Regions from separate parts of the Homo sapiens genome. Here all the other regions are linked to region 1. Evidence: promoter capture Hi-C in 16 types of primary human blood cells and fetal thymus (Javierre and others, 2016). All regions are on one chromosome and are shown on one strand. The core of a region is centred on a gene start or on the middle of the fragment in contact, and the rest is flanking DNA. Distances in the headings are between cores, read along the strand shown.

Region 1 (6,654 bases), core at 2,168-4,667:
TTATTTCAGATGAATTAGAGAGGAACAAACTTAAGGCAGGAGGAGGCACTGGGAAACACAGGATGTGGATTTTTCCAGTCCCTGCTCAGCCACTCTCATCGTGACCACAGATTCATCCCTTCACCTCTCTGGATCTCTGCCTCCTCTGCTACACTAAGTAGTGGTCATAGTTATATATTTATATCTGGTCACAGATGTTTTATAATCATAGACCATAGATTATAAATATAATAATAGATTATAAAATATCGAATGAGGGTCTTATCCAAAAACATCTTCACATAAAACTTTCATCTCACTCTGAAGGAGAAAAAGTGTGCACTGGGTAAAGACTCTATTGCCTAAGATCTGGAACTTAAATTTGCAGTAATTTCTAATACTTAAGCACATGTACTTTTCTTCCCGATTGTGCAATAAAGGACGGGAAGTAAAAAGGGGAACATTCTTTATGTTCAAATTAAGTCGGCCGGGCACTGTAGCTCACGCCTGTAATCCCAACATTTTGGGAGGCCGAGGTGGGTGGATCACCTGAGGTCAGGAGATCGAGACCAGCCTGGCCAACATGGTGAAACCCCGTCTCTACTAAAAATACAAAAATTAGCCAGGTGTGGTTTTGTGCGCCTGTAGCCCCAGCTACTCGGGAGGCTGAGGCAGGAGAATTGCTTGAACCTGGGAGGTGGAGGTTGCAGTGAGCTGAGATCATGTCATTGCACTCCAGCCTGGGTGATAAAGCGAGACTCTGTCTCAAAAAAAAAAAAAAAAAAAAAAGTCAGAGGCTCATTTAGGATACAAACTAGATGTGAATAAGTATGGGAAATTTAAAAGATAACCAAATTTGAACCTGAAGTGATCAGCATTTGATATCCTACTGAGATGTCAAAATACTGTTTCTCAGAGAAACTGACTTACCTTTCTTTTCTATTACATAGGCAATGCATGTGTATTGCAGTAAAATTCGACCCAAGTATAACAAATGTTTATATTTAGTGTATATATCTTTAAATATATTCTGACGAACCCTATGCCATTTGCTTAGAACAGATCTGATCGTTCATATGCAATGCTTATGTCCTCAACGAGGCTATAAACTCCATGAGGAGAACCCCTTTACCATAAATCCACATGCCTCCCACCCCCACAGTTTGGTCACTTTCTTTGGGAAGGGATGGGGGAAGTTTATAAATGCTTCCTTCACTAGCACCCATGCATGCATTCATTCATTTGACAAACGTTGTATTGAGCACCTAGTATGGACTTGGGCCAGGTGTAGGAGATTCAAAGGTACATCCCTCCCCTCAGCTTTCCTCCCCACTGCCTTTTTTTTTTTTTTTTTTTGAGACGGAGTCTTGCTCTGTCGCCCAGGCTGGAGTGGAGTGGCGCCATCTCGGCTCACTGCAACCTCCGCCTTCTGGGTTCAAGCTATTCTCCTGCCTCAGCCTCCCGAGTAGGTGGGACTACAGGCGCCCGCCACCATGCCCGGTTAATTTTTGTATTTTTAGTAGAGATGAGGTTTCACCATATTGGCCAGGCTGGTCTCGAACTCCTGACCTTGTGATCCGCCCGCCTTGGCTTCCCAAAGTGCTGGGATTACAGGCGTGAGCCACCGTGCCCGCCCCCCCCGGCTCTGGTTTTTTTTTTTTTTTTTTTTTTTAGACAGAGTCTCCCTCTGTCGCCCAGGCTGGAGTGCAGCGGCGCCATCTTGGCTCACTGCAACCTCCACCTCCTGGGTTCAAGCAATTCTCCTGCCTCAGCCTCCCGAGTAGCTGGGACTACAGGCACACGCCACTACGCCCGGCTAATTTTTGTATTTTTAGTAGAGACGGGGTTTCACCAGACGGGGTTTCACTGTGTTGAGCAGGATGGTCTCGATCTCCTGACCTCATGATCCTACCGCCTCGGCCTCCCAAAGTGCTGGGATGACAGCCGTGAGCCACCGCGCCCGGCCCTGCATGCCCTTTATGACATACCTTTTAGGCCAGGCGCGGTGGCTCATGCCTGTCATCCCAGCACTTTGGGAGGCCGAGGCGGGCAGATCACCTGAGGTCAGGAGATCGAGACCAGCCTGCCCAACATGGTGAAACCCCGTCTCTACTAAAAATACAAAAATTAGCCGGGCGTAGTGGCAGGCGCCTGCAGTCCCAGCTACTCTGGAGGCTGAGGCAGGATAATCACTTGAACCCGGGAGGCGGAGGTTGCAGTGAGCCGAGATGGCACTGCTGCACTCCAGCCTGGGCGACAAGAGCAAAAACTCCATCAAAAAAAAAAAAAAAAAAAAAAGATATACCTTTTTGATCTCAAGAAAGTCACAGTTCAAATAGGGAAACAATACACAATTAACTATTTTACTAAGTACTTGTGCAATTTTAGAGCCATATGTGAAAGTCTTAAGAAAACACAGAAGCAGCCTGGGGTGCGGTGGGTCCTGCCTGTAATCCCAGCACCTTGAGAGGCTGAGGCAGGATGATCGCTTGGGCCCAGGAGTTCAAGACCAGCCTGGGCGACATAGCAAGACCCCATTTCTACAAAAGTAAAAAAAAAAAAAAATAGGTGGGCATGGTGGTGCTTGCTTGTAGTTCCAGCTACTCAGGAAGGAGGCTGAGGCAGGAGGATCGCTTGAGCCCAGGAAGTCAAGGTTGCAAAGTTGCAAGGTTGCAGTGAGTTATGATTGTGCCACTGCAGCCTGAGTGACATAGCGAGACCCTGTGAAAGAAAAAGAAAGAAAGAAAGAAAGAAAGAAAGAAAGAAAGAAAGAAAGAAAGAAAGAAAGAAAGAAAGAGCACAGAAGAGGATTGGGAGGTTATGGGGTACAATTCTTGAGGGGGTGACCCTGGCCAGGCGATGAGAGGGCGGTAGGAAGGGTGATGAGGGGAGAAGAGGATTTAGAAATACAAATTTCAGGGTCTTCTTGTGTCAGCGGGAATTTCTGTCCCTCACAACTTTCATCATAAGATAAATCTAATGTTCAACTAGAGATCTCTCCCGCGCCTTGAACTTGCAAATTTATGAATCAGGGGCAAAAAAAACCCGGATACCGAGCCTGGCCTCCCACCAGCTAGAGAACCCACCAAGTTCCAGGAGGGGCGGGGCCGAGGGCGGTCCGTGCCACAGCTGTGGGCGGGGTTGTCCGTGCTTGCGCCAGAGCCGGCCCGCCCCGCCGCCAGGGGCTGTCGCAGGAGCCAGGCGTGGATTGGTATGTGGGTATGTCGGCCTCTCTTCATAGGCCGCGCAGGATTGCTCGAGAGGCTTTGATTGGCTCAACAGGCGCTGAGCGTTCATTGGCTGCGCTGGGTCGTCAGGGCGACGAAAAAGGGGAAGGGGTGCTGGGCCTGGCGGGCAAACTAAGGCTGCGGACCGTTGGGCGGTTCCGCGGGGCGTTGTCCGGAGAGCTGCGAGGCCGGGGTTCCCAGGGTTCACGCCACACTCTAGGAAGTGCCTGAGCTAGTGAGCTGGCCAACGAGCTCCGCGGGCTGGGACCATGGGCTGCTTCTTCTCCAAGAGACGGAAGGCTGACAAGGAGTCGCGGCCCGAGAACGAGGAGGAGCGGCCAAAGCAGTACAGCTGGGATCAGCGCGAGAAGGTAATGAAAGTCGTGTAGCCGCCGTCTCAGCCTCCCTGAGCCGCTCCGCCAGGTCCCTTACGGCCCGGGACCGCTGAGGGGGCCGACCCAACTGCTGCCGCACTCTCTTGAACGCGGATAGCTGAAGTCGGGGTGCACGACTTTTTTGGGGAGCGGGGACGTGAAGTACAGCGCTAGAGAGGCCGCCCAGAGGGCTGTGGAGCTCCGGAAGGAGCCTTAGGAGTTTGTTGTCGTGGTAGACAGACTCCCCCGGGAGCTTTCTCTGACTCCGAACCCTGCCTTGCTCTGACTTCCTGTTGGAGATGATCGATTCGAGAGAGGGAAAGAGCCGAGAACGCCCTGAATCTCAAATCACCTCGTTTCACCCACCGGCAGCGTCAAGCGGGGTTTTGTCCAGTCGTCGAGTTACGTATATGGGACCGATTCTCATCTCTTCCGGGGCTTAATGTTCTGTGGCTGTTTTCTCTTTTGTCTGCCCTCCCCGGCAAATCTCTTTGGTGCCTCATGATATATTTCACTGCTGAATTTTCTCAATTACCAAGTGGACTGTTTAATGTACAGCTTTACTCCCCCTCCTCTTCCAGTTATCCGAAAGAAATAATGAATATCGCATCAGTCTTGGAATGTGTATTAAGACTGTAAGGTGAAAATAAGCGGCATAAACCAGGCAGTATTTTACTGCTGGTTTAAATGAATGAAAACGCCCTTATTTTTATTTTTGTATATAGCCAGAAACGAAAAACCTTTGAAAACCTCCATTAGTCTTACACAAAACACACTCGGTCATACATTTCATAATAGTTCCTCTTTCTACATAGTTCTCCATTTGTGCTTACTAAACTACTTTGATGGACTTATCAATTATTTCTCCCAAACAAAATGAGAGATTTTTCAAATGGGTATTATGAACAGTTAACTCTTTGCTTAAGGCAACATATCTTTACCCAAGATTACTTTATAATAAATGTATTAACGTTTTGGAATCACAGACCTTTCTGCATGATTTCCAATCCCCAGCAGAATGTATTCAGGTAAGCTCTGGTCTCTAAGAGTCAGAGTTAGGAAATTGAAAGCTTTTTGCAGCTTTTCTCAGCCCCGTCTTTCTGCCCCTACTTCTCATACACACCCTTCTTGGGTCACATGGTACCTTTATTCTCTGTTAGTCATACTCGATAGTAGCATTTTATAATGTAGGGGAAGAAAGTACTATGCTTTCTATTTCACAAGAAGATTGCACCTGCCATTTAAAGTTATCTGATGGGCGGTTTTTAAAAGATATTGTTTTCCTCAGCCTTTGGCTTTCTAACAATGTTCTTTTAGCTTGAATTGTCTGCCTTAGAGAAAGTTGCATATTTCATTTTTATTTTAGTTTTTTCTTTTGAACTCAGGCTAAATCTAAACTAAATAAAATGCCTTTTTTATTTATAGTAGTCTTGGCTGCCTATGACTCATCGTTTCACAATAAATTGTTTTACAGTTAATGTTTATTAACATAATATTCAGGTTAGTTAGGACTTCTCATGTTAATCCTTCTTTTAGATAAGTGTGTGTGTCCTGTGATTTTTTTTCTTCTTTTGCCCATTGGCTAAGTAAATGCATTGAGAAATATAACATTGGACACCAACATCTAAGCTTTTTCCCCACAAATGAGTGTGTAATAAACTTTCAATTGTAGAAACTGTTTTGAGCTTACAGAGAACCTTTTTTTTTGAGAACACTACTAAGTTCTGTAGTTGTAGAGTTGTAAGAGATGTTATTGGATATATAAAATAAGCTCATGCTTCTGAGTGTGTGTATAATAAAAGTTAAAATCTTGATCAACTCAGCCAATCAAAATGAGAATTTCTAACCAAATGAGCATTCTGAAAAAAACCCCAGTTTTAAAATATTTTGGACTGTTGAAGAGAATTACCAGCTTACATTTTGAGACAATGCAGATACCACATTTCCCAACATAGCTTTTTCTTTTTAGTTTTTTTTTCTTTTGGAATTACTAGGAATTCTTTCTAAGTTGCCTCATTTTGATAGCTTGTTAAATTTTATACAATTTAAAATATTTTTTTCTAGGGCCAGGCATGGTGACTCATGCCTGTAATCCCAGGACTTTGGGAGGCCAAGGCTGGTGGCTCTCTTGAGCCCAGGAGTTCCAGACCAGCCTGGGCAATATGGCGAAACCTCATTCCTACTAAAAATACAAAAATTAGTGGGGCATGGTGGTGCACACCTGTAGTCCCAGCTACTCAGTAGGCTGAGGTGGGAGGATCACCTGAGCCTGGGACTTAGAGGCTGCAATGAGTCATGATCGGGCCACTGCCCTCCAGCTTGGGCAACAGAGTGAGACCCTGTTTCCAAAAAAAAAAAATAAATAAATAAAATATTTTTTCCTAGTTCCTTGCCTCCCGTGAGGTTAATTTGGGCTAGTGTGCAAATGTTCTGTATTAGTCCAATGATACGTTTACTGAGCATGGCCTTGCTTGCTCCTAGAAGATTTCAGTTGTACCTTAAAAGGAACAGATTGCAAATACAGCCCAGAGAACATAAATGAGATATGATGCATGCATATTAATAGAAATGATTTATATTAAAAGTTTAGGCTTCTGGAATGTGGTTATGGATTATAGCATATACAGTTTTAAAGTTATATCAGACAATTACCATTCAACTTGTAAGACTTTTACATGTAAAAACAAAATGGGTTGCCTGAAAAATTTCCTTGCAGCTTAGAAAAGGGTGTTTACATTTTTCCTTAGGTTGTGTAATCAGAGTATCTTTTTTTGATGTTTTCTTTTTGAGATGGAGTCTGGCTCTGTCATCGCCCAGGCTGGAATGCAGTGGCGCGATCTCGGCTCACTGCAACCTCTGCCTCCTGGGTTCAAGCGATTCTCCAGCCTCAGCCTCCTGAGTAGCTGGAATTACAGGCGTGCACCACCACGCCTGGCTAATTTTTGTATATTTTTAGTAGAGACAGGGTTTCACCTTGTTGGCCAGGCTAGTCCTGAACTCCTGACCTCAGGTGATCCACCTGCCTCAGCCTCCCAAAGTGCTGGGATTACAGGCGTGAGCCACCGCTCCCAGCC
Region 2 (6,654 bases), core at 1,201-3,700, 210 kb before region 1:
GTCAGAGGGAAACCCTGTCTCAAAACAAAACAAAAAAAAAACCAGAGTCAAATCTCTGACCGTGATACACAGATAGTTTTCTTCCCTGCTTAAAACTCTCCAGAGCTATACATTGCCTAGATCAGGGCTTTTCTAATGGTAAAATGTACACACATTCCCTGGAGACACTGTTAAAATGCAGATTCTGCTTCAGTGGGGCTGGTGAGGCCTGAGTGTCTCCACTCTCTTGCTTCTGCCACTCTCCACCCTCACCCTTTATCACCTTGTCACCAAGCCCTTCAGGATGCAGATTCATCTACCTTGTTGCAGATATTTTCCCAGAACCTGAAAGAATGCCTGAAATAGAACAGGTGCTCAATAACTATTTGTCAAATAAATGAATAAATTGATCTTGACTCTGAGTTTTTAGAAAACAGAAAAGGAAGAGCAGAAAGGGAAATCAGGGGCCAAGGGAGGCACTTGGAAGCACAAAAAAATGGGCGGGTTGGGGGGGGGGCGGTGGTCACAGAGTAGCAACTGGAGGAAAGGCACCTCTGCAACTGTTTGAAGTTAAAGATTTAGGTGACAGATTTACGGGTATCAGATTTCAGCCTGGAGAAACAAAAACAAACAAAAAAAAACACGGAGGACCCAGAAACAAATGATTCTAACTTGCTCAGAAAGTCATATGTGAACGCAACAATAAACTGCTGATTTTCTACAGTTTTCACTACATACACACAGACAGACACGCACACACGTGTGCATATACACAGGCATTGGTGGTTTCCTTTCCTCCACACTCCATTAATATCCGGCTTGTGACCTTGTCCTGTTGATATGGTGAAACTGGGATAAATTCAGATTCACACTCTTAGCTGCTCCAAAGTGGCCTCATCAATGAGTGCTCTTCTGTAAACTCAGGGAAGGAAGTGAATGATGTGTCTGCATGTACGGCCAACAGAAATCTCAGCTGTCTGGTCTGGCATGAAAAGTCCCCTGCTTTATCGGGGTGGGAGGCCACCCCCAGGGCTGGGCAGCTTGCCTCCAGCTAGGGTTGTTTTTGTTTTGGTTGCAAAGTCACCAAGACCTCCAGAGAAACAAAGCACTGAGTTTTGTTTTTTGTTTTTTGTTTTTTTTGTCTTGTTTTGTTCTAATGAGTCAAACTTACCAGGGGACACAAAGCTGAAGTCTGCCCACAATATTTTTATGCTTTCCCCACATGAAGCAAAGTTCTAGCCAACAGCTCCCTTCCTTTTCCCACATGAGCTAATATTCTGTAGCTCCCTAGCCATGACTCTGTTTATAGCCTTGGGCTTCAAGACCAGTGAGGAGAATTGTGCTCATTATAAGACATGCCTTCCCATCAAATGTCACTTTTTTGTTTGTTGTTTTTAGGAAGATTATTTAGAAAATGAGGTAAAGAGAACCGCCCTTTTTTTTCTCTGGTGGAGAACAAACATCTGGACTTTCCCTACCTCTGATTTCAGTTTCATGACAACACTGAGCATGTGACCTGGATCTATTTCAGGGGAAACTGCAAGAACCCAGGGTTTCACCCAAAAATGAGAAGCCCATTTATTTCTGTTTTCCTGTTTCTCATGGCCACAGAGTGCACTGAGCCCTGCTGTTAGTGGCTCACTAGAATGAGGAGGTCAGACCAGGAGGAACTGGAGAAATAAGGTCCTCTCTGCACAAGGGCGTGAGTCATTTCTAAGAGGGTGTCCTGGAGAACCAAGCTTGAAGTTTGCATGTTTTTCCCCATATGACAGCAATCTTGAAAACCTTTCAAAAGGTCAGTGGAACTGACTTTGAGGGGCCCTCTGCATGACTGTGTATGAGGTCTGGAAGGAAGGAGGTCAGGGGGAAGCTGTGACACAGCTTCTGGCTAGGGCTGTGGCAAACAGGGTGCCATTAGGAGTGCAGCGCGAGTGGCTGCCAGCCCGTTCACAACACCACATGTGCGGTGCTCTCAGCCCAAGGGGCCCTCTGGGAGCTGACAGGAACACTGAGTTCATCCATCCAGGCCCATCCAGGGAGGTTCCTGAGACTCACTCCACCTGGGGGTGGGGGCTATTTTAGCTGTTACTGCATGGACTAAATACAAGAACCCTCAGCACTTTGGACCTGCTGCTTTCTCACTCAAACATTTCCACAGAAAAGTGACAGTAAGCTTGTTACTGAATCTAATTACAAGCCCAGTGTTCCCAGTGCGCAGGGCTCATGTGATACATAGTAAGTTCTACTACATGACCAGCCAAATCCTTTCACTTATTTCCTGTTACAGATGCTTGAATGCAGAGGTAGGAGCAATGGGAAACAGCAAAGGGGGTGGGGATGTTTTGAATGGTCCAGAGCAAGATGAAATCTCTCCAAATCTTATGATCCAGCTGCTATTGGCCTTTTTTTCTTACAAAATTAATCTAGACTGGCCACAGTTCTGTGGAGGATGCTTTAGAATAGGGCAGCCATGTCCTACCAGAGCCATTATCTTTCCTTTGGTGAAATAAGGACGGCCATCATGTTTTCCCCTGGGGTTTTCTCAGGCTGAGTTTCAAGATCTCCCAAACTGTTATACTCTAAATTAGCCTCGAGGTGCTCAGTTCCTGAACTCCTGTTTTCTAAAGTCCTTAATCAAAGCTAGAGTCAAATAGCAAATTTTCAAAGAGAACTCACTGAGACCACATGCTCCCAACTGACATAATGGCCAATTCTAAGATCATCTCAAAGGTCTTCTGGAGCTCATTAAAGTGGGTGCCAAATCTCCAATGAAGCTTATTGAAAACTCTTCCCAAAATGTCCAGAACTTTCCAGGTCATGGCTTTGTGTCCCTTGAGCAGGGACCTAGAATGGACATCAATGCTATAAATGCCTTATCAGGCTGTGGCCACCCTTAAAGAGAAAGAAACCACAAAAGGCCACAGTGGCACCCCATTGACCCCACACAGCACCACATTTTGCCAGCCTTATTAAATCTGATTTGGTAGATGGAATCATTTAGAAGATCCTATGGAATGTGAAGTCTGCTGCAGACTGCTGCAGGATTAAGTGCAATGATGAGTCAGATTCAAAGCTGACTGGAAAAAAAAGAATAGGGTTTCATGGACAACATACACAGGTGGTCAGTAAAGCTGCCTGTTGCATGCTGCATCTCTCTCATTCCCTCATCCACCCAACAAACACCTATCAGGTTCCTGCATGTGCCAGCCACTGTGCTCAGCACTGGGCATTCAATGCTGAACGACATAGTTATTGACTCCCAAGGTCAAATAATATATTGGTAACACATTTCTGCCCCTATCATAACTCTCCTTTCCCCACCTTGCCTGCCCAGGTCATGCTGACCTGGATAAAGAGCCAGACCTAGAGACAAAATCATCCCGACAGCTGCACAACAGGGATGATATGGCAACCTCAATTCTTGTCTGTAAATTTGTTGATACTCTTCCCATCCAGAGGTTATGGTCTCTATCCCCTCCCATTGGGTCTGGGCTGGTCTTAGGAATGCATTTCTAAGCAATAGAAAGCCACGGAAGTGATGCTGTAGAACTTGCAAGATTAGGTCAGAAAAGGTGATATAGCCTCTACCTTGCTTGCTGGGACACTTGCTTTTGGAACCTTAAGCCATCACATAAGAAATCCAACTACCCAGCAGCCACCATGCTGGCAGGCAGCTCAGGCCACATGGAAAAGCCCTGCACAGACATTCCTGTCAGAAGTCCTTGTGGTTGGGTCCTTCCAGCCCAGGTGCCAGACATATGAGTAAATGAACCTTTGCATGATTCCAGCCCCAGGCTCCTGGTTTTCCCACCTGGGGCCGTGGACTTCATGGAGAAAAGGCAAGCCGTCCCTGCTATGCCCTTTCCAAATTGCTCACCTAGAGGATCCCAGGCCCTGGAGAAACAGGAATGCCTTCAGGCACCTGATGTCTCTCCTTTCTTCCTCAGATCCCTGGGCTGGAGAGTCAAATCGTATTGCTCTCTTTCTCCTGGGCACCACTGATAGACTCGGAACCAGTTGTAGAACCAATATCCACTATTGAAAAGTGGAGAGTCAGGGACTCTTTCTGGCGAGCCCACACCCTTCATAATGTTGATTAAGAACACATACCCTGGGGACAAATCCTGGCTCCATCACTTATTCTGAGATGACTCAAACTCCCAAACTTCAACTTTTAATCTGTAAAATGGGGAGAGCAGTACACGCTTCATAAGGCTGTTGTCAGGATCACATTGAGGGAATCTAGGTAAAGTGCCTGGCATGTGGCGAATGCTCAAATGTCTTCCCCAGGAAGAAGCATCTCTTGTGACTTACCCCTTGTAAGACTTGAAAGCTGTCGTTGTTGGGTGGTGGGTCTTGATCGGGGTCAACACCAACTCTGAAAGTCACCAGGGAGAAAGACAAAGAGAAAAACAGAGCGTATTAGCTTGGCCCATGGTAGCCATGCAGGCTGCAAGTAGCCTGGAGGCTAATCATCTTCCCGAAGCATAAGGAGTGGTTAGCTAAAAGGTGAGGAAAGCTGTCATGCAGAAGTCATAAGAAAGAGGTCGCATACCACTTCAGATCCCAGAGGGTCAGAGGGGCGATGAATCCCATGTGCTCACACTCTAAGCAAGGCCGCCGGAACACAACACATGCTGGCAACTGTCCACTTGCTTTTCTGCACCAGGTGGTCCCAGTTATCAAAATGGGGGTCTCACTGCACTGGGCCCTTCCTTTGTGCTGCTTCCTCACTTCTGCCCTGGCCTGCTTTAATTTCTCTAACATTCTGTTATAAACTTTTTCAAATATACAGGGAGATGTTGAAAGACTTTAGAGTGAACCCCTATATACCCACCATCACTAGACTCTACCATTAACATTTTACTGTATATTCCTTATTACCTATCTATCCATTTCTCTATCACCCATCTTACTTTTTCTTTGGATACATTCAGATAAAGTTGCAGACATCAGAATACTTCCCCTAAATACTTCACGTGCATATTGACAAAGAGTCTCTCCTTGACCAAACTTTAGTCAGGCTCCTAGGAATTCACTTCCCAACTAGGCACTGACTTTTGGGCTTCCATGTCCATCTCAGCATAGCCCAATTTTAGCAAGAGGTTTGCTAAGTTGGTTTGGCCAGAACCGAACATCTGATTGGGTTCTTCATCCCCCCACAATCCCTCAGGTGATGTCTGATTGTCTAAGTTGGTTTGGCCACAGCCCAACATCTGAATGGCCTATCCCCAACATCTGATTGGATTCTTCATCCCCCCACAATCCCTCAGGTGGTGTCTAATCCCCTTCGCCTGTCTTCAGCAAGAATCCTATTGGGTCAGTTTAGCCAGAATCCCCCTTGCCCCTGATATTTCCTCTCAGTACTTCCCTATCCACTGACCCGTTTCTCTCCCCTGCTGCAAAACCCCATCACAGTGGTCCCTATTCCAATCGTGATGGTCCTGAACAACGTCTGCCTTACTGTTTAAATATACATCAGAATAATGTTTTCTTTAACAATATCATTAATTAGAGTCCTGACCTGCTTTCAATCCTGGTGCCCCTATACCCTCTTGCATCAAGATAGCCTTGAGAACTCACACATTTGAGAGCAACAACTAAAGACAGAAAGAAAAAGCAAAATGGCAGGACTCATTTATAACAAATACTATAAAAGCACCAGGGCAGTTGTCTTGGCTTAGAAACATACTAACTGGCACTCTATGCATCTGGCAATTTTTTTTTTTATCCTTGCACCTTCCTCATTCTGAGGCAGGATACTGTGCCATGGATGACATGGATAACACTGGGCAATGGGGGAAAGAAAAAAGATGCCAGGAAAATCCTATATCTGCCATGGAAGTTCCGACCTTCACGGCAGCCACTTGATATCAACCAAGTATGAAATGCAGCCCAAACTCCTGACAGCAGAGAGTCTAAAAGAACCTCCTGGGCCCTGCCACAGACAGAGGAGTGTGGGAAGGCCCTTGGGGTCTCTTGGAGGGCCTTGCTACTGATATAAGTGCAGAACAGGAGATTTCTAAGAAAGGAAACAAAGAGCTGCTTCTCAGCTTGCTGCTGCTAAAAAAAAAAAAAAAAAAAAAAAAAAAAAAAAAAAAAAAAAAAAACAGATCGGGGCCGTGAGACACAAATAATGTTTTGCACTTTTTTTCCCCTATTCAAGGTTGTTTACTTTAGGGCGATTTAGTAATTACTTTTCTGGCAGGGTTGAGGGCCTCTTGGACCAATCCCCAAGGATGACACGGGACCTTGTGGCTTCCTACAAAGAGCCCCACCCTTGGGGCAGAGCCCAGAACCAAACTGATCTCTGGGAAGAGGAGGTAAAGCAATGGGCCAGGGTGTTTTGGTGTGGAACTGGGCAGCAAGAAAGAACAGGCACAGGATTTTTTTTTTTTTTTTTTTGGTGAATTTTTTTGAGACGGAGTCTCACTCTGTCACCCAGGATGGAGTGCACTGGTGTGATCTTAGCTCACTGCAACCTCCATCTCCCGGGTTCAAGTGATTCCCCTGACTCAGCCTCCCGAGCAGCTGGGACTACAGGCAGGTACCACCATGCCTGGCTAATTTTTGTATTTTTAGTAGAGACGGTGTTTCACCATGTTGGCCAGGCTGGTCTCGAACTCCTGACTTCAGGTGATCTGCCCACCTCGGCCTCCCAAAGTGCTGGGATTA
Region 3 (6,654 bases), core at 1,842-4,341, 200 kb after region 1:
TCTTAAAAACGATTCCGGTAATGAATATAAATGATACCCCTTTCTCACATAGAAAGAGATGAGATGGCAATAACTGACCAGACCTTGCAGTATGTAAACTGGTATGTATTAAAGCTGGGACATTGGTACCCTATAAAGTTTCACATAAGAGATTCTTCCAAAGTGAGTATATTTACTTGGATTCTAAAGAGATACTTGGCTTAGAGCTCCCTCTGTTGGCTGAAAAGTGACTTAAAATACCTTGGAAGATTTGGTTTACTCCCTAACAGAATGGGGACATGTTGACATCTGAATTTATTAAACATGATTTTTCTTCTTTAGTGACACCATATTACATTTCAGTGTTTGTTCCTCAGTGACAAAAAATACACTTATGTGTACTTTAGAAGAGATGTGTACATAAGTAGCCTTTAGATTTTAACAATGAATTTAACATTTTTTCTTTAAAAAATGTGAAAGTTGGGCCGGGCATGGTGGCTCACGCCTGTAATCCCAGCACTTTGGGAGGCCGAGGCGGGTGGATCACGAGGTCAGGAGTTCAATACCAGCCTGGCCAATATGGTGAAACCCCGTCTCTATTAAAAATACAAAAATGAGCTGGGTGTGGTGGCATGCACCTGTAGTCCCAGCTGCTCGGGAGGCTGAGGCAGAAGAATTGCTTGAACCCAGGAGGTGGACATTGCAGTGAGCCAAGATTGCGCCACTGCACTCCAGCCTGGGCGACAGAGTGAGACTCCATCTCAAAAAAAAAAAAATGTGAAAGTTAGGGCCATTCTAAATCCTTTTACATGTATCTATGATCTTATGACTGTGAGTAAGTCCACAAAAGGGCTCAGTAAATGATGTTCTGCCCTATAGACTGGCCAGGAGCTAAAGGATATTCCAAGAGCCAGTCACTGACCTGACCTCTCTTCTGCCAGTCTGAAAGAGACTCTATTTTAGGGAGGAAGCTTGCTTTCATTTCCTAGCAAACATTCTGGGCCTCAGACAAAGAGCTTTAAAGGTTAGAAACCTTATAAAATGATGCCTTGCTCTTGTGAGAGGAGCCTACCTAGAGTCCAGCTTCAGTTCTTGAGCTAAATACATTTGTTTTATCCAACCACCTACTCAAGCTCAGCATAGGGGGCATTCCAGGTAAATTGATGATAACAGCTCTACCTCTAGTGACTTTAAAATCTCATTGAGTTCTGTAGGCCAGGGTTAATTAAAAGAAAAAAAAATACTAAAAATGTCACTGAGGAGAAGAAACACAACAGCAAATGTAGAGAAAAAGAATACATGATGCTGGCCGGGTGCTGTGACTCACACCTGTAATTCCAGCACTTTGGGAGACCAAAGTGTGGATCACTTGAGCCCAGGATTTTGAGAGTAGCCTGGGCAGTATTGCAAAACCTCGTCTCTACAAAAATTAGCTGGGCAGAGTGGCACATGCCTGTGCTCCTAGGTACTCGGGAGGCTAAGGTAGGACGATTGCTTGAGCCCAGGAGGTTGAGGCTACAGTGAGCCAAGATCATGCCACAGCATTCCAGCCTGGGTGACAGAGCAAGACCCTGTCTCAAAAAAAATAATAATAAAATTAAAGAACACATGATGCTGACTATGTACTTGGTGAGGGAAATTGCATGGAGTGGAGGATGGGAGTCAGGCAGTGGGACAAACGCAAGGGGCTACAGTGACCTGAGCAGGATTTTTGGAGGGGCCTGGAGTTTGAACCGGGTCTGGAAGGGTGAGAAAGGTCCAACTATGCAAACAACAGTTGACCATGTAGAGCAGGGAAGCTGCTTAGACACATGGATGTGAAAATAAGAATGACCAGTTATGGAGAAAACCAGGAGGCCTGCCTGTCCAAGTCAGAAGCCCTGTGTTTGGGTATAGTGGGGCATGAGATCAGATAGTGAAGTACAAGGAACAACAGGCTTTAGATAAGGAACCGGCAAACTTTTTCTTTAAGGATCCGCTGTAAATATTTCAGTCTTTATAGCCACATACAGTCTCTGTTACATGTTCTTCTTCTTCTCTTTACAACCCTTTAAAAATGTGAAAACCATTCTTAGCTTGTTGGCTTTATAAAACAGACCTTGGAAAATAGCCAACCCCTAGTTTGGATAGTGGGGAGCAGGTAAGAGCAGAAGGAATATCTAAAGGGCTTGCCACTGTACAATGGTATGAATTCTTTTAGTGAGGAGAATCTGGCAGTCAAGTAGAAGAAGGGTTGAAGGCGTGCAGGGGGAAAAAGAAAATGTAGAAATTAATCAATCCAGGCATGGCATAATGAGAACTTGGATAGAGCAAGTGGTGAGGACGGAGAGGAACGTCAGAGTCTTGGGGCCACTGTAGGGAGAATAGCAAGTACCAGGTCAGCAGATGAAAGAAAGTGAGTAATACAAGTCTAGGAATTTGGATCTGGAAGATAGGAAGTATGGTGGTGACACGGAAAGAAGGAGCTTGGAAAAGGACCAGGTTGTGGGGGGACCGATATTATGGTAACTGTTATAACTTGAATCTGAGTTGAGGGTGAATCTCCTGAGGCAGACAGAAATTTTGAAGCTGCCATATTGAATCAGTTAGTCTCTAATAGAGTAGAGCAGTAAGGAGGAAATGATGGGCAAAATTGGGGATAGCAAAAAGGGAGTCTAGAATGTTTCCCAAACTAATCTCCAGTTTCTCACAGTAATTATTTGTCCAACTTCATTCCATAAAGGATTTGAAGCACCTTCCAGAACTCATTATGAATTATTGTGATTAGTGTAATATTCTATTCAAGATTCATTCACAAGTCCCTGTTTCTTCAACCCAAGCAAGCAATTGCTACGATTTACTGAGTACTTTTTATGCACCAGGCGTTAATAGGCTTTTTATAAACGTCAGTTCATTTGCTCCTCAGAAGTTTCATTCTCTTTATTTTCTAAAACTTTTTTCTTGATCACAACAGTGTATGACTTTTAGGAAATGTTCAATAAGTGTTTGACTAATTATAATACATAGTCATTGAAGAAGCTTTAGAAAACAGACCAAAAAATGCTGTAATCACAACACTCAGATAACAGTTGGGTTAACGGTTGGCTGTATCTCCTCGTCTTGTTCTATCATCCTTAAAGTCAGTTCTCATGGACAGACATGCTGATCTTAGGAGAGATGCTGGAAGTTGCTTTTTTGAGTATTTTTAAATCACTCGATACTGGATATAAGCTTGTTCGGCTTTATTTGCCTTTCTCCCAAAAGCAGAGGATACTCTGTGACTGTGTATCAGAACAGATACCAACCCTGGTGAGAAGGTGCTGACCATTCTCCCCTCTCCTCCTCATACCTCCAGGCCTGCTATGGCATCCTCAAGGTCCCAGAAGGCAGCTGGCTGTGTCGCTCCTGTGTCCTGGGCATTTATCCGCAATGTGTGTTATGTCCAAAGAAAGGTGGAGCCCTGAAGACCACCAAGACAGGGACTAAATGGGCTCATGTCAGCTGTGCCCTGTGGATCCCAGAGGTAAGAATTCATCCAGGCCCGTGAGACCATTTGCTCCAGGGTGTCCCTGTTCCCCACAGCATTCAGACTGACTCAGGCTCAGTATGGAAATGCTTCATGCTTGCCCATGTTTCTGAAGTAATAGTACTTCCACTTGAGCTACCTCAGATCCTTATTGGATGCACACTTGCATGTAAGCCCATGGTGATTAATATATAGGTGGTATTCCCAGTGGTATTTGGGATAATACCCGAATATATACACGATATTTGGGATAATACCCAAATATATACATGATATTTGGGTATATCATGTATAAATTGATAAATTTGTATGAGAGGAGAGACACAAAAGACCAGGGTGTGAGCAGCAGAATTTTTTAAGGTAAAACTTATATTTAGATGCCAAATTTTAAGTGTAGAGTTTTGTGATATTTTACACGTTTGTATCTGTAACCACAACTCAGACCAAGACATGAAATACCCTAAAAATAGACATAAAGCACCCCAGAAAGATCCTCTATACCCACTTTCCAGTCTCTATCCCCCAAGAATAACCACCATTTTTGTCTTGATCATGATAGATTAATTTTATCTGGTTTTAAACTTCATACAGTATGTATTTTTTTCGGTCTGGCTAACACTCCATGTTGTGGTGTATATCAATAGTTTATTCCTTTCTATTGCTAATATTCCATTGTATGGATATACTCTGATTTATTCATTTTCCTTTGATGGGCATTTGGGTTGTTTACAGGTTTAGGCTATTACAAATAAAGTGAGCAGTAACTCTTTGTCTACTGTGATGATGCCCTTTACTTTTTTATTTTTATTTATTTTATTTTATTTTTGAGACAGAGTCTCGCTCTGTCACCCAGGCTGGAGTGCAGTGGCGCTATCTCGGCTCACTGCAAACTTCACCTCTCAGGTTCACGCCATTCTTCTGCCTCAGCCTCCCGAGTAGCTGGGACTACAGGTGCCCGCCACCATGCCTGGCTAATTTTTTTTTTTTTTTTTTGGTATTTTTAGTAGAGACGGGGTTTCACCGTGTTAGCCAGCATGGTCTCGATCTCCTGACCTCACGTGATCCACCTGTCTAGGCCTCCCAAAGTGCTGGGATTACAGGCGTGAGCCACTGCGCCCGGCCGATGCCCTTTACTTTTTGAAGCTCTTTTTAGGGCTTACACTCAACACCTGCCAAAGACCTTCTTTACTCAAAATTCAATTTTTTATCATTATCTAGCCTGGTCCTTCAGTTGCTGGTATTTCCTGAGTGGCTACATGTACACTAACTTAATTAAAATGGGGCTTGAAGACATTTCTTCTTATGGCTGCCTTTTTTTTTCTTTAGCTGTGTGGATATCCCACTCATGCCCTCTCTCCCCAGCCACTATCCAAACCAGCAAATTTGTTAGGCAGTTTAACTGCATGACAAGAGAGACTGCAGAATCTAGTTAATGGGGAGCTGACATTATATCAGTAACTCATTCTCCTTTAAGATTTTCTTGTTTTTAATCTTGTTAATATTGGTTCCAGGGGAGTTATTGTCTAATAAAGAAGCTCAGAGTTACACTAAAAGTCCCATATATATACTTTTGTATTCCTATGGCTATAGACATCAGTATTTTAAAAAAATATTTGAATAGTAGTTTCTTTTTCTCACTAAGAACATCTAGACATAAAATAAACTCAGGTTTCTGGCTTGAGAATGACTGTTTTCCAACAGCAAATCCCTCAGCTAATAGAGTAGGCTCTCTCAGCTTATAAAAGTCCAGAACATGACTCAGGAAGAGCTCTTTAAAAACAAAATAGACTTTCTCAGTTATTGACATTCTCTTATGATTTCTAGTTCTTGGTTTCCAGTGCCTTCTGGACTACTCAAGATCTGTTAGTTTCCTGATGTGGGCAGAACCAGTACTAGTTTGGCATCCTTATTTGACAGTTCTTCACCTTTTAAAGCTGTATCTCTCTTAGAAACTCATGTATATATTTGGCGGGGTGGGGGGAATGAAAATACTTTTTACCAGCAGTTGCTTGACCCCTTATTTTCACATGGAAAAGAATATTTCCATCTTTTTAAAAAACATCCCTTTCTGCTGGGTGTGGTGACTCACGCCTATAATCCCAGCACTTTGGGAGGTCGAGGCAGGCAGATCACTTGAGTCCAGGAGTTTGAGACCAGCCTGGGCAACATGGCAAAACCCCATCTCTACTACAAATACAAAAAATTAGCCAGGTGTGGTGGTGCATGCCTGTAGTCCCAGATATTCAGGGGGCTGAGGCGGCAGGATCACTTGAGCCTGGGAGGTCGAGGCTGCAGTGAGCCCTGATCCTGCCACTGCACTCTAGCCTGGGTGACAGAGTGAGACCCTGATTCAAAAAGGAAAACAGAAAAAGCATCCCTTTTTTGATGGGGTTGTTTGTTTTTTTCTTGTAAATTTGGTTGAGTTCATTGTAGATTCTGGATATTAGCCCTTTGTCAGATGAGTAGGTTGTGAAAATTTTCTCCCATTTTGTAGGTTGCCTGTTCACTCATGAACAGACACTTCTCAAAAGAAGACATTTATGCAGCCAAAAAACACATGAAAAAATGCTCATCATCACTGGCCATCAGAGAAATGCAAATCAAAACCACGATGAGATACCATCTCACACCAGTTAGAATGGCAATCATTAAAAAAGTCAGGAAACAACAGGTGCTGGAGAGGATGTGGAGAAATAGGAACACTTTTACACTGTTGGTGGGACTGTAAACTAGTTCAACCATTGTGGAAGTCAGTGTGGCGATTCCTCAGGGATCTAGAAGTAGAAATACCATTTGACCCAGCCATCCCATTACTGGGTATATACCCAAAGGACTATAAATCTTGCTGCTATAAAGACACATGCACACGTATGTTTATTGCGGCATTATTCACAATAGCAAAGACTTGGAACCAACCCAAATGTCCAACAATGATAGACTGGATTAAGAAAATGTGGCACATATACACCATGGAATACTATGCAGCCATAAAAAATGATGAGTTCATGTCCTTTGTAGGGACATGGATGAAATTGGAAATCATCATTCTCAGTAAACTATCGCAAGAACAAAAAACCAAACACCGCATATTCTCACTCATAGGTGGGAATTGAACAATGAGATCACATGGACACAGGAAGGGGAATATCACACTCTGGGGACTGTGGTGG
Region 4 (6,654 bases), core at 2,561-5,060, 140 kb after region 1:
TAAAATGCACTAACACCTAACGATAGCTGATGAGCTTTAAAGAATCACAAAAAAAATCTCAGTGTTTAAAGAAAGTTTATGAATGTGTGTTTGGTGGCATTCACAGCCGTCCTGTGCCACATGCAGGCTGCGGGTTGGACAAGCTTGATGTAAAGAATATTGATGGTGCAAGTGAGGTGCTTCTTTGCATGTACTTGGATGGAAAGCAAAGGAGTGAATAATTGTGGGGGAGGGACGTCTGGGAAGCTTCATCGAGGACATCCAATGAATGAATAGAACCAGGGTTGGGGAAAATGGGCTGGTCAAGGAAAACATGGGGAGGAATTGTAGGTAGAAGGAAGAGCCCTGTGCAAAGGCTGGCAAGCAAGTATGAAACAAGACGAACGTGTTCCCGGAATCACATGGGGCATAGTATATGCCAAACAATTGGAGTGGATTGGGGGGAACAGCAGTTGATGAGGCCTGAGAGACTGGGAGCCAGAACTGGGCCTCGCAAGCCATGCTGAGGAGATTGGGCTTAGAAGGGGCACCATTCTTGCTGTCATCCCTCCAGCCTGTCCTCTGGCTTCTGGATCAACTTGGAGTGCTCATTGTCAATGTACCTGACTGCCCCCTGGTGGCCATGTTGCTCTAAGCATGTCGCTTTAATGCTTCTGAGCCCCAATTTCCTCATCTGTAAAATGGCTGCTGCTGCTATGTGTAGGACTGTTGTTGTGCTTAGAAATAATAAATAGAGATATAAAGATTTACCATCATTGAATTATTCTGCTGATATTTATTGTTTTCTGTCATTTTCCTACAATAATTAAAACAGCAGTATGTCACAGAAATGGACAGACAAATCACTGGACTTTAAACAGCCCATACCCAAAAATTAACTTGCTTTGTTTTCTTTTCTAAAAGTCATTGATGACTCATTTTCTTATTTCCCAGGACTGGTGTAACTCGTATTAGATAATCTGTTTCCTAGGCTTTTTACTGATAATACAAGATTTTTTGTTTCCATCTATAATAAAAAATAGTTGTTACTGTAATTGTTTTAAAAATGCCAAATTTTGCCTATTCTTTAAAATCTCCCTCTGTCAAGAACAGTTTGATAACTCTTTTACTTAAAGAACAGAATATTATAGAAAATGGAGAAACTGTTTTATCCAAAGTACACATACCCAGAACTTCAGATGAGAGGAGTATCCATCTCACAAGAAGTCTTAGGTCTTCTGAAACTCTCAGGGAGGTGAGGAGAGAGGGTCCATGGTCAGTTGGCTTTCTTCACTGAGATTTTTAGAGAATAAAACTGTTTTTTCTATGACATTTGTTGCCCTTGATCCCATCATGAGTCATCCATATGGAGGTTATATTCAGTGGGAACATAAACTTTCATTTCTCTGGGATAAATGCCCAGGAGTGCAATTGCTGAGTCATAGTTGCATATTTAATTTTTAAAGAAATGACCGAAATATTTTCTAGAATAGCTATACTATTTTACATTCCCACAAGCCATGTACGAGTGATATAGTTTCTCTACACTTTCTCCATGATTTGATATTTTCACTATTTCTTTATTTCAGCTATTGTAATAATAAGTATGTAATAATATCTTGTGGTTTTAACTGGCATTTCCCTAATGGCTGGTGATACTGAATGTCTTTTCACGGGCTTAAATGCCATTTGCGTTCCTCTTTGGTAAAATGTCTGCTGATTTTTTTTTTTTTTTTTTTTTTTTTTGAGACAGAGTCTCGCTGTCACCCAGGCTGGAGTACAGTGATGCAATCTAGGCTCACTGCAACCTCCGCCTCCCAGGTTCAAGCAATTCTCATGCCTCAGCCTCCCGAGTAGCTGGGATTACAGGTGCATGCCACCACACCCAGCTAATTTTTGTATTTTTAGTACAGACGGGGTTTCACCATGTTGGCCAGGCTGGTCTCGAACTCCTGACCTCAAATGATCCGTCCGCCTTAGCCTCCCAAAGTGCTGGGATTACAGGTGCGAGCCACCATGCCCGGCCCATCTCTTGATTTTTAATTAGGTCATTTGTTTCCTTACTGTTGAATTTTTAGAGTTCCTTATGCATTCTGTAATATAAGTTCATTGTCAGATATGTGTTTTATAATAAATATTACATGTATAATATTTCTAAGAAATGACCAAAATATTTTCTAGAATAGCGATTCCTTTTTACATTCCCACCAGCAATGTATGAGTGATAGTTTCTTCACATCTTCTCCAGCATTTGATATTACACGTGTGTGTAATATGTGTAAATATTCTGTCCCATTCTGCTTGCTTTTGCGTCTTCTTAACAGGGGCTTTCTCAGAGCAGAAGTTTTTTTAAAAATATAAGTAGATAGTTTATTTGGGCCAAGTTTGAAGACCACAACCCAGCAGCATAGATTCAAGTTGCCCTGGATATGCTTCTGAGAGCAAAAGTCTTTAATTTTGATGAAAACACATTTTTCTTTGCCAATCATGCTTTAGGTATCAAGTCTGAGAACTCTTTGCTTAGCCCTAGATCCTGAAGACTTTCTCTTATGCTTTTTGTAAATATTTTATAATTTTACATTTTTCATTTAAGTCTGTGATCCATTTTGAGTTACATTTTGTATATTAGGTTGTGGTAGGCAGAGATGTCCGTGTCCTAATCTCTGCAACCTATGAATATGTTAAGATTGCTATTTAGCTGACTATAAAATAGGGACATTATCCTGGATTATCTGGGTGGGTCCAATGTAATTACATGGGTTCTTAAAAGTGGAAGAGGGAAGCAGAACAGAAGGGTCAGAGAATGAGATGCGATGACAGAAACAGGATCAGAGAGATTCAGTGTTGTTTGCCTTGAAGATGGAAGAAGACAGCCAAGATCAAGGGAGTAAGAGTGTCCTCTAAAAGCTGTAATAGGCAAGGAAATGAGTTCTCCCCTGTAGCCTCTAGAAAGGAACGCAGTCCTGATGACATCTTGATTTTAGCTCTGTGAGACCTGTGTCAAAATCCTGACCCACTAAACTATAAGATAGTAAATTTATGTAGTTTTAAGCCACTGAGTTTGTGATAATTTGTTACTGTAACGTTAGAAAACTAATAGGTGTTTTAGAAAAGCTTCTATTAAAATAGGATTTTATACATTTGGGTATACTGTGTATCTGAACAATTTTTATATATGCAACATCCCCATGATATCAGATAAATGAAGTGCTACTCTAAGTAGATCTGTGCATTCAGTGGGGAATAGTTAGAAAATGTATTACTTTTATTTCTGCTTAAATTTCTACATTCATTGTGACTTTAAATTCCCCACTACTACTTTTTAATAGGAAGTGTCTTGTTGTTACTGTTGGTTTTGTTTGCGTTTCAGAAGAGATTTGAATGAAATTTTGCACCAGAGAGCCAAATGTAGCCCCAAAAATTTATGTGATGGGAGGCTCTTTTTTAAAAATATTCAATTGACTTTGACTGTAGGACAAACAGAACCTTAGTTAATGGTTCTGATTCTTGTACTAATTTTATTAGTTTTTTAAATGACAGCTTTGAGATATAATTTGTATACCATGCAGCTTACCCACTTAAAGTATACAATTCAGTTATTTTAATATATTCACAGATATGTGCAACCAATCACCAAAGGACACAATATGTTTTCACACTGTCTTCTAATTTTGTTTCTGAGAAATTAGCTGTTAATTTTATTGGAGTTCTCTTGTAAGTGATGAGTTGTTTTTTTTCCCGGGCTGCTTTCAAGATTTTCTCCTTGTCTTTGGCTTTCAGTAATTTTACTATGAGGAATCTCTTTCTGGATCTCTTTGCATTTATCCTACTTGGAGTTCTTTGAGTTTCCTGAATATGTAAATTAATGTTTTTCAGTAAATTTGGGGAGTTTTTCTAATATTTTTTCTGCTCCTTTCTCATTCACTTTTCCTTTTGGTACTCCCATTATGTATATGTTGATGAACTTAATGATGTTCTACATTTCTCTGAGGCTGTTTCTTCTTCTTTTTTCCATCTGTTCTTCAACTTGCCTAATCACTGTTGACCTACTTCAAGTTCATTAATTCTTTTTTCTGCTTGTTCAATCTACTGTTGAGGCCCTTCAGTGAATTTTTCATTTCAATTGTGCTTTCATCACCAGAATTTCTATTTGGTTATTTTTTATACTTCCTATTTCTTTATTGATAGTCTCTGTTTTGTAAAATATTGTCATCATACCTTCCTTTACTTCTTTAATCATGGTTTTCTTTAGTTCTTCGAACATATTTATATGGCTAATTTGAAGGTTTTGCCTGTTAAATCTGACATGTGGTTGTATGGGTCATACTTTCCTGTTTCTTTGCATATCTCTTAAGTTTTTGTTGGAAACTGGGCATTTTGGATAATATATTGTAACAATTGTGGGTACTACCCCTCCACCAGGGTTCTTTATTATTATTTGCTTGTTTACTGCTTTAGTAACTGCCTGGATTATTTTATTGAAGTCTATTTCCTCAACCCCCATTCTCACCCTGCAGTATGAAGCCTCTAATGTTGCTCTTCGGGGGTACAAGCTTGTGTATGCCCACAGTCACCCTGGGATGACAGTGGGTTTGGTGAGGCTCTCCTTGGCTGTCTCTTTACTTGACCACACCATGCTGTTATGGTCTACTAATTGTTGACTGGTTGCTCTTGTTTTGTTTTTGTTTTTTTGAGATGGAGTTTCACTCTTGTCGCCCAGGCTGGAGTGCAGTGGCGCGATCTCAGCTCACTGCAACCTCCACCTCCCGGGTTCAAGCAGTTCTCCTGACTCAGCCTCCCGAGTAGCTGAGATTACAGGCGCCTGCCACCATTCCCAGCTGCTCTGTTGTTTTAATCATGTCCTGGAATATAAATTGCTCCACAAACTGATCCAATCAAATTAGGGCTCCTTTGAAGATAGTTCCTGAGATCTGTGTTTGAGATTTCTTCTGACCGCAAGAGGCTCTTTCCCTGCTGTCTCTTTCTCTGGTTCTCTCTGGCATATTAGGCAGCCTAGGCTTGAACTTCTGTACACTCAGTTGCAAATGAAGTCAGTTTCATTGCAGGAGAATTGAAGCCCCCTATTCTATGCCCTGCCTCTCTCCCTGGGAAAAATCTTTGAGCCACAGCTCTGGCGCAGTGGATGGAGATAAATGGTGAGCTTCCCTCTGAGTGTCAGCCCCAGGTCTCCCAGGTTTGCCTCTTCTGGTATAGAACCCCCACCCCACAAGGTAACGCCAGAGCAATCAAGGCTCTGGTATTCTTGGTGGCACAACACCCAAGGCATAGCCTCCATCCCATGAGTTGGGGGCTAGGTGGAAGAAGGGAGCCCCCACCTCTCAGCCACATTCTCCTGGAACGTAGCCTCAGCAAAAGTAGCTGGGAACGGGATAAGAGATGCCGACATCCTGTTCTTCCCAGGAAGAAAGGAGCTTGGAGCTGGGGTAGAAGGAACCCTGTGTTCTTGGCTACTGTACTCTGGCATGAGATCTTTGCTGGGAGGGAAGATGGAGGAAGTGGTTCTAGATCCAAATACTGCAGACTTTGACTTTACTTTATGAATTTTAGTAGATTTTCTCGAATAAGTACTTCATTTGCTGTATGCCCTTAAAACCATTTCCAGAGACTTTAAATGGTTGGTTTTTTTTTAATTGAAATAACTTTCACCAATTTTGCTGGGAAGAGGGTCGTCCATGGAGCTGCTCACACTGTTATGCCAGAAGTGGAACTCTGTGAGCTTTTTAATGTAAAATTTTGTTGCTGCTATTCTTAATTGCTCAGAGTGGCCTTGTATTTGGATTTCTACCTCCTCAGTAGATTGTAAATAGCTTGAAGGCAGTAGCCCTGACCTTTATTCATTATGGAATCATGATAGCCCCTGGTAGCATGTTGTATGTTGTGGCACATAAAAGAATGTCAGTCACTGGCTATATTGCTGTCTTTTCAAGTTTACATTTTCAGCACTTCGTTTGTGACTTAAAGTGCTTAACTGTGTCTTCCTTTTTTCTTACACTCCAGTGCTAGTGTGTTCCCAGAAGGGTGATGCTTCTTTTTTATCTGTCATTGGCCATACTCAGGGAAGTACACTTGAACCGTTGGAAGTTTTAGTCCAAAGCATTTTTATTTACCCTTCACAATATAGGAGCTTTGTTTAACATTCCTTGTAGTGTATATATAATTTTGACTTTAGGCTACTTATTTGGGATATGGGGACAGGAAGAGAGTGAGAGAGGGATAAAGGGCAGGCAGAAAATCAGTGTGGTCGTGTTCTTAAAGGTGGATGTGCCTCACTTGTTCTTTCTTCAGCCAACTATGTCTCATGCTTTTCAACCTTGGCTCTTGATGGCCCTGCCCTCATGACTGACCTGTTCGTCTCTTATTGGGGATCACTGGCTGGTTATGGCCCCATGGCTGCCCCACCCTTTGTTTTGGTGGACAGTGGCCATGTGGCCACATCTGAGGCTCCAGTTAGTGCTGTACCACTCATTTGTGGCTTGGGCTTCCTCCTAAGGCTAATGTGGCCTTTCTTAGTCTTTGACATGCTTTGTATTGAAAGATCTGGTAGTACTCTTCTGTCATTATTCTAAGTCATTTGAGAATATTCTTGACAAAAATCATTCAGTTTGTATGATTTGCTTGCTGCTATTTCTGGGATCCATGGGACAGTGTTGACTG

What was found. Contacts are between HindIII fragments. The CHiCAGO score rates a contact against its expected background, and 5 or more counts as called.
Region 2: a contact is called between a fragment that was not itself captured here and the fragment with the promoter of RP2 in region 1, in 1 of 17 cell types (monocytes). The highest score is 5.2, in monocytes.
Region 3: a contact is called between a fragment that was not itself captured here and the fragment with the promoter of RP2 in region 1, in 1 of 17 cell types (total B cells). The highest score is 5.4, in total B cells.
Region 4: a fragment that was not itself captured here is called in contact with the fragment with the promoter of RP2 in region 1 in 1 of 17 cell types (naive B cells); the score reaches 6.0 in naive B cells.

Annotation. Positions count from the first base shown.
Region 1 is chrX:46,833,626-46,840,279 of GRCh38, forward strand. RP2 (RP2 activator of ARL3 GTPase) reads left to right here and starts at 3,418. Exons shown (of 5, transcript NM_006915.3): 1 at 3,418-3,577. The coding sequence starts at 3,476. RefSeq lists a silencer at 3,020-3,099 and an enhancer at 3,410-3,549. The HindIII fragment of the contact is 11,862 bases long and covers 1-4,648 here.
Region 2 is chrX:46,627,293-46,633,946 of GRCh38, forward strand. It overlaps SLC9A7 (solute carrier family 9 member A7), which reads right to left. Exons shown (of 17, transcript NM_001257291.2): 14 at 4,294-4,357. Among named protein-coding and RNA genes, the nearest start is that of CHST7, 57 kb to the left of the region's middle. The HindIII fragment of the contact is 601 bases long and covers 2,151-2,751 here.
Region 3 is chrX:47,030,308-47,036,961 of GRCh38, forward strand. It overlaps JADE3 (jade family PHD finger 3), which reads left to right. Exons shown (of 11, transcript NM_014735.5): 7 at 3,314-3,481. Among named protein-coding and RNA genes, the nearest start is that of RGN, 45 kb to the right of the region's middle. The HindIII fragment of the contact is 192 bases long and covers 2,996-3,187 here.
Region 4 is chrX:46,978,175-46,984,828 of GRCh38, forward strand. The region is part of intron 1 of JADE3 (jade family PHD finger 3); the gene reads left to right. Among named protein-coding and RNA genes, the nearest start is that of JADE3, 69 kb to the left of the region's middle. The HindIII fragment of the contact is 1,439 bases long and covers 3,092-4,530 here.